Regions from separate parts of the Homo sapiens genome. Here all the other regions are linked to region 1. The links are contacts of gene promoters, found by promoter capture Hi-C in blood cells and fetal thymus (Javierre and others, 2016). All regions are on one chromosome and are shown on one strand. Each heading gives the region's core, a stretch centred on a gene start or on the middle of the fragment in contact. The rest is flanking DNA. Distances are from core to core; before and after follow the strand shown.

Region 1 (3,532 bases), core at 450-2,949:
TTTACATATAACCTATGCACATCCTCCCATATACTTTAAAATTATCTCCAGATTACTTATCATACGTAATACAACGTAAATGTCTGGTAAATAGTTGTTATACTGTATTGTTTAGGGAATCATGACAAGAAAAAAAAATCTGTACACGTACAGATACAACCATCGCAAGCTTAACAACAGTTATGATTCATGTTTGTTGAATCCGTGGAAGCAGAGCCTACAGACACAGAGGGCTGACTGTTCATTCACTGATTCAGCAAACATATACATTTATGATTATGTGTGCTGAGAAACCTTGGTTTACAATTTGTAATGGGATATAACAAATCAAAGGATCAAACTTACTTAGAAGCCTTCTCTAAGATGTAAGTGCCTTAGAACCTGGCTAGACAGTGCTATAAATTGCTGAAACAGGTACAGAGGGGAAATAGATGGAGGCAGACTGCAGGAAGAAGGAGCCCTTTAGACATAAAGAGCTTGAAGTTCCCTGTAACTTCCAGGTGGACTGCACATTGGGCAATTAGATAATATGGATTAGGAGCTCAGGACAAGCCTCCAGCAGAAACAGACATTTATTAGTCATCTGTATTAGATGAAGCCATGGATGGCAGTGTAATGTTGTTGCTGATAGGAGTACTTAGATGATCAAGGCCAGAAACTTAGAAACACCAATAGTTAGGGGAAAAGCAGAAACTAAGTCCTGTCTTCTTTGTATCTTTTACTTTTTCTGTATATTTCAAAACTATTAACCCTGTTACTTTTTTATTTTATTGAAAAATATGTTAAGAATAAGTGTGACAAGATACTTGAATATGTTGATATGTTAAGAATAAGTGTGACAAGATACTTGAAGATAGGATACTTCTATCTTTGTATACACAAGAAAAGAATTTCCCCTATATTTACAAAAGGCTGGGGAAACCCTGATTAAATTAGGAGTGAGATTGCTGCCCTCACTGACGAACTAGGGAGTTTCTTGACCTCTGCGCTAAAGGCAGGACAAGTAGCTTCCAAATTCTGTGCCGTCTGCGCTATTGGAAACTACCTCTTAAAGATATTCCTTAGTTCAGGGTTTCTCCAAGCAACTGCACCAAAGTTTCTCCAAAGTATTAAGAAAAGTCAATGCCTACTGGGTGTACAGGCACCCAGTAACAAGTTTTTCCGAAATCTTGCCTCTTTAAAAAAATAATGGAAAGGTAATGCTGATTTTGTTTTCTACTCCACAATAGGTCTGCTTTTATATAAAAAATCACCTTTAAAATTACTTATCCGCTCAATTCCTTAGCCTTTTCCGTTTCCTATTTTCCAGAAAACGCATCTTTATTATTTTAGAAATGAGAAAAGTGAGGCTTAGAGGTTACTACCTCACAAAGCCATCCGTCCATCCTCACAAACTTGGAACCAGTTTCTCACTAACTCTGCACCCTCAACACCCCCTCACACTCTCGGTCACCCACCCGCGAACCCACCCGAACTGTACCCCTGCCCCCAGCCACACAAGCTCGGATCACCGCACATCATAGAAGGCGATTCCTCCCCTCCATACTCCCAGCCCCGTCGCAGGCACTGCAAATCCTCCCCTCCAGCGTCCCTGGCCCGTTTCAGTGTCCAGAAACCCAAGTCCCACAGGGCCGAAACCCAACTCACCGGCAGACAAAGACGACCATGGCAAGTCGGAGATTCCGCGCCTGCGCACTCCTTCCGCGGGCAGCGCTCCCAGAGGTCTCCTGGGCTGGGCCAGGCCCCGACTCAGAACCGGACGGAATCGAGAGATCTTGGCCCGTCCTCCGTGCCACTCTTTTGAGGGTAGACTACATTTCCCAGAAGGTTCAGCGGTTTGAGTCAGCTTTTCGCGCGAACTTTTCCTCCGCCAGAGCTTGTGGGACTGTCTCCCTGGCCGGGGCAGGGGTGTAAGGCCTTAGTCTTAGTTTACTCTATCCCTGGGATTGGGTAGTGGTGTAACATCAGCTTAAACACGCTGTGCTGACTTTATGTAACAGCCACGGTGCGATACTAAGCCAGGAACCCCAGGAGACTCTCAGACACGGTTCGGGAATGAGGGTAATCCCTTTGGCTGGGCTCAAGCCGGGCGCCATCTTGCTCATCGCGGGCGTGGCGCTGAACTACATTTCCCAGAAGGCGCCGCGCCCTCGGCCCCTCCCCTCGCGACTCCCGCGGCTCGGGGGAGAGCTGCACGCGACCCAGGTGCTGGCCTCTGAGCGGGTCGGCTCGGAGACTACAGGATCAGGAGGAGGTTGGAGGTGAAGCGTCTGGAATCCGGTGCGGAGGTTGAGACTGAGTATTAAGTCTGTTCAGGCGGAACGCGCCGAGAAGGGCGGTTGTGAAATTGTGTTTTTGTGAATGTATGTCCTAGCACAGTGTGTGTGTGATTGTGATTGTGTGTGACACCTTGTGTACGGATGTGGGGAGGACTCTGCGGGTGTCCCGTGAGTCCCTGTGTTAGGACTGTTATTGTGTGACTGTGTAACGCTGTGTGAGGGTGTGGGTTAGCTGTGACTGTGTGCCCGCGGTGGGTGTGTGATTGTAACTCTGTGACCATATGTTCGTTTGTGTGCAGATATAGGGAGCTTTGTACTTATGTAGTTGTGACTCTGTGTCCTTGTGTGGGAGTATGGAGGGTGGGTGCTTGTGACTTTGTGTACAGTGGTGGGTGTGTGACTGTGAAGCATTGGGTGTGCGTGGAGTTGAGACTGTGTTTGTGTGTCTTTGACCAAATGTCACACATAGTCATATGTGAGAGCAGAAGACAGCTCGGCCCCGTGATAGTAAAGGGGATTTTTCTATGACACTGAGTTTTGAGTTGGAAGCCCCAGTTTCCTCTGATAGCCCTCCCATGGCGGGGGAGGGGAACGCAGAGTAAGCTCTGGCCTTGTCATTTGGGCCCTAGGGGAGGTGTATTGTCTCCCTTCTCATTTCTGTCCTCCAAGAGAGGTTCCCCAGAGGAGAGGAAATAACGGTTGTGATATCTAAAAGCCATGTTTAAGGTGCCTTGAAGTTTTCTCTTTGTTCCTGAAATGCTTTATTTTTCCAGGACCTGATTTTTTTTTTTTTTGAGATGGAGTCTCGCACTGTCGCCCGGGCTGGTGTGCAGTGGCGCGATCTCGGCTCACTGCAACCTCCGCCTCCCAGGTTCAAGCGATTCTCCTTCCTCAGCCTACCGAGTAGCTAGGATTACAGGTGCCGGCCACCACGCCCGGGTAATTTTTTTGTTGTTGTATTTTTAGTAGAGACGGGGCTTCACTATGTTGGCCTGGCTTGTCTTGAACTCCTAACCTTGTGAACCGTCCACCTCGGCCTCCCAAAGTGCTGGGATTACAGGCATGAGCCACTGCGCCCGGCTGATTTTTTTTTTCTTAGCAAATGCCTAAAAGGACTTATCAAGTAACCTGGAATCTTCTGTTACTCTTTGGAAAAATCTTCCTAATTTTGTCTTATTAATATAGCAAATGGTTCAGTTTATCATGTATGCTTAGTTTGGTTTTACCTATATACATATGTAGATATATATGCA
Region 2 (3,406 bases), core at 9-2,508, 7.5 Mb after region 1:
TCTTTATTGCAACATAACAGGGTTCACATGATGTGGTTTGTCCCTTCACTGGTGATCTCAACTGTGTTCACTTGGCCAAGATGATGCCTTTCAGATTTGTCCGCTGTAAAGTTACCTTTTTTAAAAAAACTCAAGTTTCTTATTGGAAGGTACATTATTAGTGGGCATTCTACTAAAGATGAACTTCTAGTTCTCTTCATTTATTCATTTGTTTGTTCAAGTATAAATCTCCCAACAATATGGACTCAGAATTCAGTCTTATGAAGGTAAATGACATGTGGATTAGCAATTTTTTTTCAACTCTATTGAGGTATATTTTACATAAAGCATTCACTCATTTCAGGAGTACAGTGATCTTTAGGAACTTTGTAAAGTGGAGTAACCATCATCATAATTCAGTTTAGTTATTTTTCACCCTCAGTTGGACTCTGTGCCCATTTACAATTAAACCTCATTCTCACCCCAAATCTGGAGCAACCACTAACCTACTTTTCCTCTATGTATACATTTGCCTATTCGGACATTTCATATAAATGGAATCATCTAATCCATGGATTTTGGTGACTGGCTTCTTTCTCTTATGATGTTTCCAAGGTTTGTGCATGTTGTAGCATGGGTTGGTACTTCATTCCTTTTAATTTCCAAATTAGATTCCATTATATGGATATGCCATGATTTTTCTATCCATTTACCCAGAGGAAGGCATTTTGGTTGTGCACAGTTTTGGGGTTAGTATGAATAATGCTGCTGTGATCATTCATAATACATGTGCTTGTTGCTACACAGCCTCCCCAGCCACCATTTCATGTCTCTCTTTTGCTGTCTCTGGCATTTTCCAGGCACAATTCCACCTTCCTTTGTGCTCCATTACTCAAGACACTGAAGACTCCAAAAAGTAGTAGGAAAAATGACCACATTCAAGGTGAGTAGAGCTCACCTCTCTTGCTATTAAAATTCCATCTTATTGCTCATATTGTCATATATTTTTCTCTGTCTTGGGAAGACTCAAGGAGGAAATGGGCATTTGGGACCTGTTGTGTGCCAGTTGCTTCCTTTGTCTCTTTTGTGTTGACTTTGCATTTGGTTTTTGGTTTGGGTTTTGTTTTGTTTTTTACTGTTACATTATGGAGTAGAAAAATTAGTAGGAATGAACAGTGCTCCCACTTCTTCACCTCCTTGCTCTCAAATTAGCCTGATTTTTCTTCTTGTGCTGTTCCTTGTACATTCATAACTGTATTTGTATTGATGATGGAGTTCCTTATGTCAAGAGTGCTCTATACACCAAGATAACATGTCCTTCTGGTTTTCTTCATACTTGTCCATCAGATAGTTAGTCCCCCTTTCTGTGGAGGCCCACATTGCGCATGTTGGCTCCATTTCTCTTAGATGCTCCAGGGACCCTCTGACCCACTTCACCCACCTCCTGAGTCCTCTGGCCCCAGGAATGAGCTATTATTTAAGGTGTCGCAATCAGCGGATCACACACCAAGCTCCTGTGTTTCCGTATTCTGTCCTTCTGTCTCAATCCATGCAGCCAGCTCACATCTGTGGAGGGGTGGCCTGTGTCCCGCTTATCATTCTGTCTTCTTTATAAATCATCAAGCTGCTGTCCAGCCTGCGCCCCCAGGCTGCCATCACAGCACTGGGCCAATTGCCCAGGATATAAGTGCTCCCCCTTTGCCAGTCCAGAGTTCTGTCAAATTGGACCCTGCTGGCTGCACCAATTCCATGGAACAGGTTCACTAGTTACAGACTTGGCGAGTCTACCATGAGAGAGCACACTCATGTATGACAAATTACATAAAGCAGATTTATTACATGTAGGTAGCAAGGGACAACAGAAGCCTATGATCCACTGTGAGCCAGTCCTCCAAGGCTTAAGAAAGCTGCCTAGAGTGGGTGGAGTCACGACTGCACTTGCCCCATTTGCACCATAGCTGAGGCACCCCAAGAGGCAGCCTGTCCCAGGCTATATGCCTCAGGGGTAACATGACTTACTGAGCAGTTCCTCTCTAACTCAAGATATTATCTTTTATGGATTGGACTAGAACCAAAGAAGGCATAAAAAAAAATAAAAAGATGTTATCTTCCCTGGGAAGGACACTGCATAACTAGCACATTTATGGTTATTCTTGAGACCTATAAACAAGAAAGTGGGGAGAATGGATCCAAGGCTACTTTGAAAATAGTTACCTAAAACCTGTTAGTTTGGCAAATACTAAAGAAAAGTGATAGCATCCAGGGTTTGGGTCTGAGAGAGGAGGACAATAAGCCTCATCAAACAAGGTTGAGACTGAATTGCTCATTGTTGCTGGGGCAACTGGGGCAATTGGCAAAATTCATTGAAACCTATATAGGTGTAGCCCAGGATGCACCATTTGAAATCCTAAGGGGTTACTTACAAGGAGACTCAGTAAGTGCACAAAGTAAAAATACAGGAGGTCTTTTTCATGATTGCACTTCTGGTGGAGCTCAGGAAAATCACTGTCAGGATACAGACAGAATGAGTGGGAAATCTATAAGTTGACCTCCACTTCTCCTCTCCGCCTGCTCAATGCTGCTCCTCCCCCAGTAGTCCATGGTCATAGGATTGAGGTTATGTATCCTTGATGTTATAGGAGGCAGTGACCTTCAAGGATGTGGCTGTGTTCTTCACTGAGGAGGAACTGGGGCTACTGGACCCTGCCCAGAGGAAGCTGTACCAAGACGTGATGCTTGAGAACTTCACGAACCTGCTGTCAGTGGGTGAGCACAGGCACCCTCTGTAATGGTACATCAGGCCTCAGGAGTGGCTTTGTATCCTAGAGTATTCAAGTTTGTGTATGCAGTGGGAACTTAAATTTCCAGTAAATTTTACCTTGATATTACCTAGAATGAATTGGTATTAAGCACATGACTTTGCATGTTCACAGGGCATCAACCATTCCACCCTTTCCACTTCCTAAGGGAAGAAAAGTTTTGGATGATGGAGACAGCAACCCAAAGAGAAGGAAATTCAGGTAAGAAGCAAGCAACTGTGTGTCCTTGTACATGACTTTCTTTCCCATTTGTTTTACTTCTGACCATGCCCACTTATATCACCCTGATCTAAATTGCCCAATCTCTTTCCTGGTTTATTACAACCCCTTTCTGGCTGGTGGTCCTGTTCCCTCCCTTCCACCCTGACATCTATTTTCCCCCGAGCAGCCAAAATGATCCTTGGGAAATGCAAGTCAGTTTTCCACTCCTTGGTCCAAAAGCCTTTATGGTTTATTAATGTTATTAAAGTTACAACCTCTTTATTGGCTTTTAGAGACCCTGAGGTTTGTTCTTCATCCCCTGCTGCCTCTTGACTACATCTGTCCTCTCGCCCTTGCATCATCTTTTCCAGCCACGTTGTCCTCCCTGCTGTTACTCTGTCCTGTCA
Region 3 (3,239 bases), core at 684-3,183, 7.5 Mb after region 1:
ACAATTCAATAAAATTATACACCAATATCCCTTATGAATACTGATGCAAGAATTCACCAGCAAAATACCAGCAAGATCCAGCAGCATATTAAAAGGATTACACTTAGTGACCGAACTGTTTTATTCCTGGAAGGCGAATATAATTATGGTTCAACATACAAATATCAATGTAATACTCCACATGAGCAGAGTGGAAGGTATAAATCACATCATGTCAGTGAATGCAGAACATTCAGTTTCACAAAATTCAGCACCTAGCACCTTTTCATGATTGAAATACCAAATAACTAGAAGGAGAATAAACTACCCCAGCAAAATAAAGGCTATATATGGAAATTCTCAGAGCTGATTGTCATACTCAATGGTGAAGGACTGAAAGCTTTTCTTCTAATATCAGGAACACAATGAGTTTTCTCCACTTTTCCCACATTTAGTCAATGTAGTATTGGAAGTTCTATGCAGAACAATTAGATAGAAAAAGAAAATAAAGCTATTAAAATTGGAAACAGAGGTAAAATTGTCTATATGCTAATGACATGTTCTTATATATAAAAATTCTAAAGAATTCACAAGAAAAAAAAACTCTTAGAGCTAGTAAAGTCAGAAAGTTGCAGGAAAAATATCTACATAGAAGAAGCAGTTGTATTTCTATACAAAAACAATTAATCTGAAAAGGAAAATAGTTCCCTTTGCAATAGCATTAAATAAATAAATTACTTAGGAACTGTCTTAACCAATGACAAGAAACACTTGGACACTGAATTTTGCAACATCTTACTAAAGAAAATTAAAGAAGGCACCCCAGGCATGGTGGCTTATGCCTGTAATCCCAGCACTTTGTGAGGCCCAGGCAGGCGAATAACTTGAGGCCAGGAGTTCGAGATCAGCCTGGCCAACCTGGTGAAACCCCTGTCTTCACTAAAAATACAAAAATTGGCCAGGTATGGTGGTACGTGCCTGTAATCCCAGCTACTTGGGAGGCTGAGGCAGGAGAATCGCTTGAACTCAGGAGGCGGAGGTTGCAGTGAGCCAAGATTGTGCCACTGCACTCCAGCTTGGGCGACAGAGTGAGACTCTGTCTCAAAAAAAAAAAAAAAAAAATTAAAGAAGGCGCAAATAAATGGAGATATATCCATTATTAATGGATTGGGCGACTTGATATTGCAAGGCTGTCAATACCTATATCTATAGATTCAATGCAATCCTTAATCACAGTAACATTTTTCTCAGAAATGAAAAAATCCACCTGAGATTCATGTGAAATATCAAGGGACACTCTCTCCCATGGTCATATTTTAGACCTCGTCATTTTCTAGCAAATATTCCTCCATAATAATTTGCAGCACTACTCTCCAACAACTTTGACTTGTATTTCCACCTTGGTCCCACCAGCATGCTAGCATCAGTAATATTAGAACCTCGCCAATACCTACAGTCCACTGAGACGATCACCTTTTTACTCTTTCAACTCCTCGTGTACTCACAGCCTGCCAAGCACATTTCTTGTCAGGAGAGGACAGCTCACTTCTCCTAATGTCTCACTTCCCAAAATTGTGTCCCATGAAAATTTCTAGCTAGATGAAGGCAGAGAAAGAAAATATTTGATTTCTTAGGCTTTATGGAAGCGATAGGAATGGCAATAGTGGTTTGGAATGGAGACTGCACGCACCAGTCAACAGGGTGTGTCCCGAATAAGCAGTGGGTAAAGGACATTTACTGAAATGCTATCTCCAACTCCACTTCAGGAAAGCTTGCTGCAGAGTTAGAGTGATATAGTCCAAATGCTCTGTTTGAGTCGCGGGCCCTTTGTCTCACACGGGCGAGTCCGGGGAATTCTGGGAAGTGGAGTCCACACGCTCTGTGGAGGCTCGAGCACTTCCGGTCCCCAACTGTGACGTTGCTATTTCATTTACCACAGTAGTTTGAGTCATTTCCACATCTTGCGAGTCCTTCCGAACGAGTCTCCTTTCCTTGGGGCTCGCAACCACCCAATGATCGATTCAGGAGAAAAGAAGCCTGGGCGGAGAGCAGAGGTTTGGAGGGGCGCGGGCGGGGATTGCCGTTCCAGTCAGCTGAGCCTTCTGGCGTCGGGGGGCTCTGCTAGGGTCTCAGGGAGTGGGATTGGCGCGGCCCGGTGTGCCCTACTTTGACCTCGCTTAGTCCGCCTCCCTCCTCCCTACGTGTGCAGCCCCTTTCAGTGTGGTGTGGAGTGTCACTTAATGTCCGTTTATCTTCCATTGCTGGTTCGTTTGTTTGTTTGTTTTGTAACGGGACTTTTCGGACCATCCTAATGGATTCATTTTGGGACCTGAAAGAGGTAACACAAATGAGAGCCTTAAAAGCAGTCCCTGTCACTCGGTGTCTGGTGGTCTCTTGTTAATTTCCCACGAAGCCTGTCAGGTCCTCTGGTGGGGTCAGAGCTCCAGCTGCAGGGGCGCCGGCCCTTCTGCCTGATCCCTGCAGGACGCTGGATGATCCCTGACGCCTTCTGACCTCTTTTTAGGAAAGTGAGGGGAGCATTTAACTTTTATGGGGGACGGCAAAACGGTCAGGGTGTTTCACAGCTTTCTTTTTCCCCAGCCCGACCTTTCTAAAAGAGCTGCAGGAAGGGACTTCTTGGCTACTGATGGCAAAGCTCTACGTGAGTGATCCTTGGCTTTTTTTCTTTGACAGAGATGCTTACCTCAACCGAGAGTGTGTAGGATTTGTCCCTCGGGCATGGGTGTCGATAATGATTAAGCCTTAATTGGTAACTTTATTCCAAGTACTTTATACCCCAAAATACATGATCTTCACAGTGGCACTGTGGAGAGGTGCTGCTTTTTTCATTTTAAAGATGGGCGTGAGACACAGGTGGAGCAGGAGTTGAAACCTAGGCAGTCCAGGTTAGAGCCTGAGTTGATCATCTCTTGAATGCAATTCTCATTGAGGCAGAGGTACTAGCTGGGAACAGGTGGAGAACGTAAGTTAGGACTTGATTGAAGGCACCTTGAGGCAAGGCTCAGGGGCTTGGACTTCTATAGGAGTTTTTGTTTGTTTGCTTTTTGCTTTTTAATTTTTTTAACCTTATCTACTATTTTCTTTCTCTCTCTCTCTCTATATATATATATATTTTTTTTTTTACAGAGTTTCGCTCTTGTTGCTTAGGCTGGAGTGCAGTGGTGCAATCTTGGCTCACTGTAACCTCCGCCTCTCGGGTTCAAGTGATTCTCCTGCCTCAGTCTCATTTTCGTCAAAGG
Region 4 (3,359 bases), core at 681-3,180, 7.6 Mb after region 1:
TATATATTTTATACATACATATATACAAAATAAGTATTGGAGAGGATGTGGAGAAATTACTACCCTCACACACTGAAGGTGGGAATGTAAAAATGGTGCAGTTGCTGTGGAAAATTGTTTCGTGGTTCCCAACATAGAATTACCATATGAATCACTAAATTTCATATCTAGGTATATACCCCAAAGAATTGAAAGTAGGTGATGAAACAAATACTTGTACACCACTGTTTGTAGCAACACTATTGACTACAGCCAAAAGGTGGAAAGAACCCAAATGTCCCTCAATCAATGAATGGATAAACAAATTGTGGCGCAAGCCTGTAATCCCAGCACTTTGGGAGGCTGAGGTGGGCGGATCACCTGAGGTAAGGAGTTCGAGACCAGCCTGACTAACCTGGTGAAACCCTGTCTCTACTAAATACAAAAAAATTAGCTGGGTGTGGTGGCGCATGGCTGTAATGCCAGCTACTTGGGAGGCTGAGGCAGAAGAATCGTTTTAACCCAGGAGGCGGGGGTTGCAGTGAGCTGAGATCGTGCCATTGCACTCCAGCCTGGGCATCAAGAGGGAAACCCCACCTCAAAACAAAACAAGACAAAGCAAACAAAAAAAACAAATCGTAGTAGAAACATAAAATATTATGAAGTACTGGTACATGCTGTGATGTGGATGAACTTTAAAAGCAGTATGCTGGCAGGGCGCGGTGGCTCACGCCTGTAATCCCAGCACTTTGGGAGGCCGAGGCGGGAGGATCACGAGGTCAAGAGATCGAGACCATCCTGGCTAACACGGTGAAACCCCGTCTCTACTAAAAATACAGAAAAATTAGCCAGGCGTGGTGGCACGCGCCTGTAGTCCCAGCTACTCGGGAGGCTGAGACAGGAGAATCGCTTGAACCCGGGAGGCGGAGGTTGCAGTGAGCTAAGATCGTGCCACTGCACTCCAGCCTGGCACTTTTTTTGAGATTCCGTCTCAAAAAAAAAAAAAAGAAGCAGGATGCTAAGTGAAAGGTGTCAGAAACAAAAGGTTCCATAATGTATAATTCCATTTATATGAAATGTCCACAATAGGTAATTCAATAGGACAGAGATTAGTGTTAGACAGTGACTGCTTAGTGGGTATGGGGTTTTTGGGGTGATGAAAATGTTTCCTAACTTTTTATTTGTACTACATATATCCTAAAATGGTGAATTTCACGTTTTGTGCATTACACCTCAATAGAGATGTTTTAAATAATAAAATACATTAAAATGTTTTGCATAGATAAAACAATAAAAAAAAACGTTTTTGTTGAGAAAATATTTGCGAGATAAAATGTTAATATCATGAATATAAGAACAGTGCTTGAAAAGTGAGGGATAAAACCAAAAACTCAATAAGAAAGTGGGCAAAACATCTGGACAATTTACAAAAAATGTAATAATGACACCTGAAAATATGCAAGAATATGCCATCTTTACAAGAGTTATAAATTAAAACTACATGCCATTTCTTACCACTGGCAAAACTTATTTGAAGAGTGTATCATCTCGCTTGTTCCCTTTCCAGTAACACTCCTGTCCTCACTAGAGGGGTTTAGACTTCAGGAATTCCTTTCTATACGGTATTTTCTCTTAGGCACCCAGGGAGAGGGAAGGACGACTCTCAGGGTAGAAGTCCACATTTCCCAACAGGCGCTCGGGGGTACGAGATTCGTTCCCCGTGGGAAGAGTGGTCAAGGGCTTCCCAGTAGTCGTCAACACTTCCCTTTGAGTGTAATGCTGCAGGAGTACAGTCCAGACCCTCAGTGGAATCGCGGTCGGTTTAGCTCCGGCAGTTGGGTCCCAGGGAATTCTGGGAAGTGTAGTCCAGACGCTCAGTGGAGTCGCGGTCAGTTTGGCTCCGGCTGGCGGGTCCCGGGGAATTCTGGGAAGTGGAGTCCAAACATTCGGTGGAGTCGCGGACACTTCCGCTCGGGGACTGAGGTTGCTGCAGTTTTTCCGCGATAGTTTGGGGCAGTTCCGCGCGTTGCAGGCCCTTCTGAATTTCCTGGACCTACGCATTGGATCCTCAAAGAACTGGTGATCGAATTAGGGGAAAAGGGGCCTCGTCGGAGAGTAGAGGTTTGGAGGGGCAAGGGCCGCTGTTTGCGTTCTCGTCCGTGGCACCTTCTTGGGCTTGGGTCTGTCCTCGCTTCCCGGGGGCATTGGTACTTGGTTGGGTCGCGTCTCACCTGGTTTCAGGGTTTCCGGGGCTCTGAGCTCGCCCACTCCGCCCCCTGCACCCCACGCGCGTGGCCACTTCTTCTCGATATAACGTTGGGGTGTTAATCTCCTTGGGTTTCCCGTTACTGTTCTTTAAAATGGGGACTTTAGGGCCATCCTAATGGAATCGTTTTGGGAACTGGAAGAGGTAACACAAATGAGAGCCTTAAAGCAGTCCCTGTCACTTGGTGACTGGTGGTCTCTTGTTAATTTCCCACGAAGGACCGGGTGGGGTCAGAGCTCCAGCTGCAGGGGCCTCGGCCCTTCTCCCTGATCCCTGCAGGACGCTGGATGATCCCGGAAGCCTTCTGACCTCTTTTTAGGAGAGCGAGGGTTGCGTCCACTTTCATGAAGGGAAAGGAGCATTTAACTTTTATGGGGGACGGCGACGCGGTCAAGGTGTTTCACAGCTTTCTCGTTCCCCAACCCGACCTTTCCAGAAGAGCTGCAGGGAGGGACTTCTTGGCTTCTGAGGGCAAAGCTCTACGTGAGTGGTCCTTGGCTCTTTGACCGAGATGCTCACCCCAACCGAGAGTGTATAGGTTGTGTCCTCGGGCATGGGGGTCGATAATAATTAAGTCTTAATTAGTAACTTCATTCTAAGGGCTTTATACAAATAAATTTACGCCACACCGTGGCTCTGTGGAGAAGTATTGCTTTTTTCTATTTTAAAAACGAAAGTGAGACACAGAGCGCATAGGCACCCGACTAGTGAGAGGTGGAGCTGGGGTTGGAACCTAAGCAGTCTGGGTCAGAGCCTGATTTGATCTTCTCTTGGGATACGTTGTCACTGAGGCAGAGGAACTAGTTGGACTTAGGTGGGGAAAGCAAGACTTAGGGGCTTGAAATTTTCTGAGTTTCTAAAAATGTTGTCAACTATTTTGTTTCAATCATTACAAATATTTTGTATTCTTATAGAACCATGTCATTGTACAGCATTCTATTTTTCTTTATTAAGAACAAAATGGGCCTGGCGCGGTGGCTTACGCCTGTAATCCCAGCACTTTGGGAGGTCCAGGCGGGCGGATCACGAGGTCAGGAGTTCGAGACCAGCCTGGCCAACATGGTGAAACCGCATCTCTACTAAAAAATAATTACAAAAATTAGCTGGGCGTGGT

What was found. The method cuts DNA at HindIII sites, captures the fragments that hold promoters and counts their contacts. A CHiCAGO score of 5 or more calls a contact.
Region 2: a fragment that was not itself captured here is called in contact with the fragment with the promoter of ZNF260 in region 1 in 1 of 17 cell types (non-activated CD4 T cells); the score reaches 8.6 in non-activated CD4 T cells.
Region 3: the fragment with the promoter of ZNF222 here is called in contact with the fragment with the promoter of ZNF260 in region 1 in 5 of 17 cell types (activated CD4 T cells, non-activated CD4 T cells, naive CD8 T cells and 2 more); the score reaches 13.3 in activated CD4 T cells.
Region 4: a contact is called between the fragment with the promoter of ZNF224 here and the fragment with the promoter of ZNF260 in region 1, in 5 of 17 cell types (non-activated CD4 T cells, total CD4 T cells, monocytes and 2 more). The highest score is 12.8, in non-activated CD4 T cells.

What each region holds. Positions count from the first base shown.
Region 1 is chr19:36,526,572-36,530,103 of GRCh38, forward strand. It overlaps ZNF260 (zinc finger protein 260), which reads right to left and starts at 1,700. Exons shown (of 3, transcript NM_001166037.2): 1 at 1,648-1,700. RefSeq lists enhancers at 997-1,707, 1,448-2,077, 1,708-2,416, 2,228-2,427. The HindIII fragment of the contact is 4,591 bases long and covers 168-3,532 here.
Region 2 is chr19:44,006,172-44,009,577 of GRCh38, forward strand. It overlaps ZNF230 (zinc finger protein 230), which reads left to right. Exons shown (of 5, transcript NM_006300.4): 2 at 840-922; 3 at 2,619-2,745; 4 at 2,913-2,999. The coding sequence starts at 908. Among named protein-coding and RNA genes, the nearest start is that of ZNF230, 4.9 kb to the left of the region's middle. The HindIII fragment of the contact is 6,269 bases long and covers 1-3,406 here.
Region 3 is chr19:44,023,446-44,026,684 of GRCh38, forward strand. It overlaps ZNF222 (zinc finger protein 222), which reads left to right and starts at 1,934. Exons shown (of 4, transcript NM_001129996.2): 1 at 1,934-2,033. The coding sequence starts at 1,992. ZNF222-DT (ZNF222 divergent transcript) reads right to left here and starts at 1,837. Exons shown (of 3, transcript NR_184028.1): 1 at 1,670-1,837; 2 at 1,453-1,574; 3 at 1-454. RefSeq lists enhancers at 1,900-1,949, 2,180-2,229. The HindIII fragment of the contact is 1,542 bases long and covers 1,749-3,239 here.
Region 4 is chr19:44,092,431-44,095,789 of GRCh38, forward strand. ZNF224 (zinc finger protein 224) reads left to right here and starts at 1,931. Exons shown (of 6, transcript NM_001321645.3): 1 at 1,931-2,100. RefSeq lists an enhancer at 1,741-1,850. The HindIII fragment of the contact is 10,144 bases long and covers 1-3,359 here.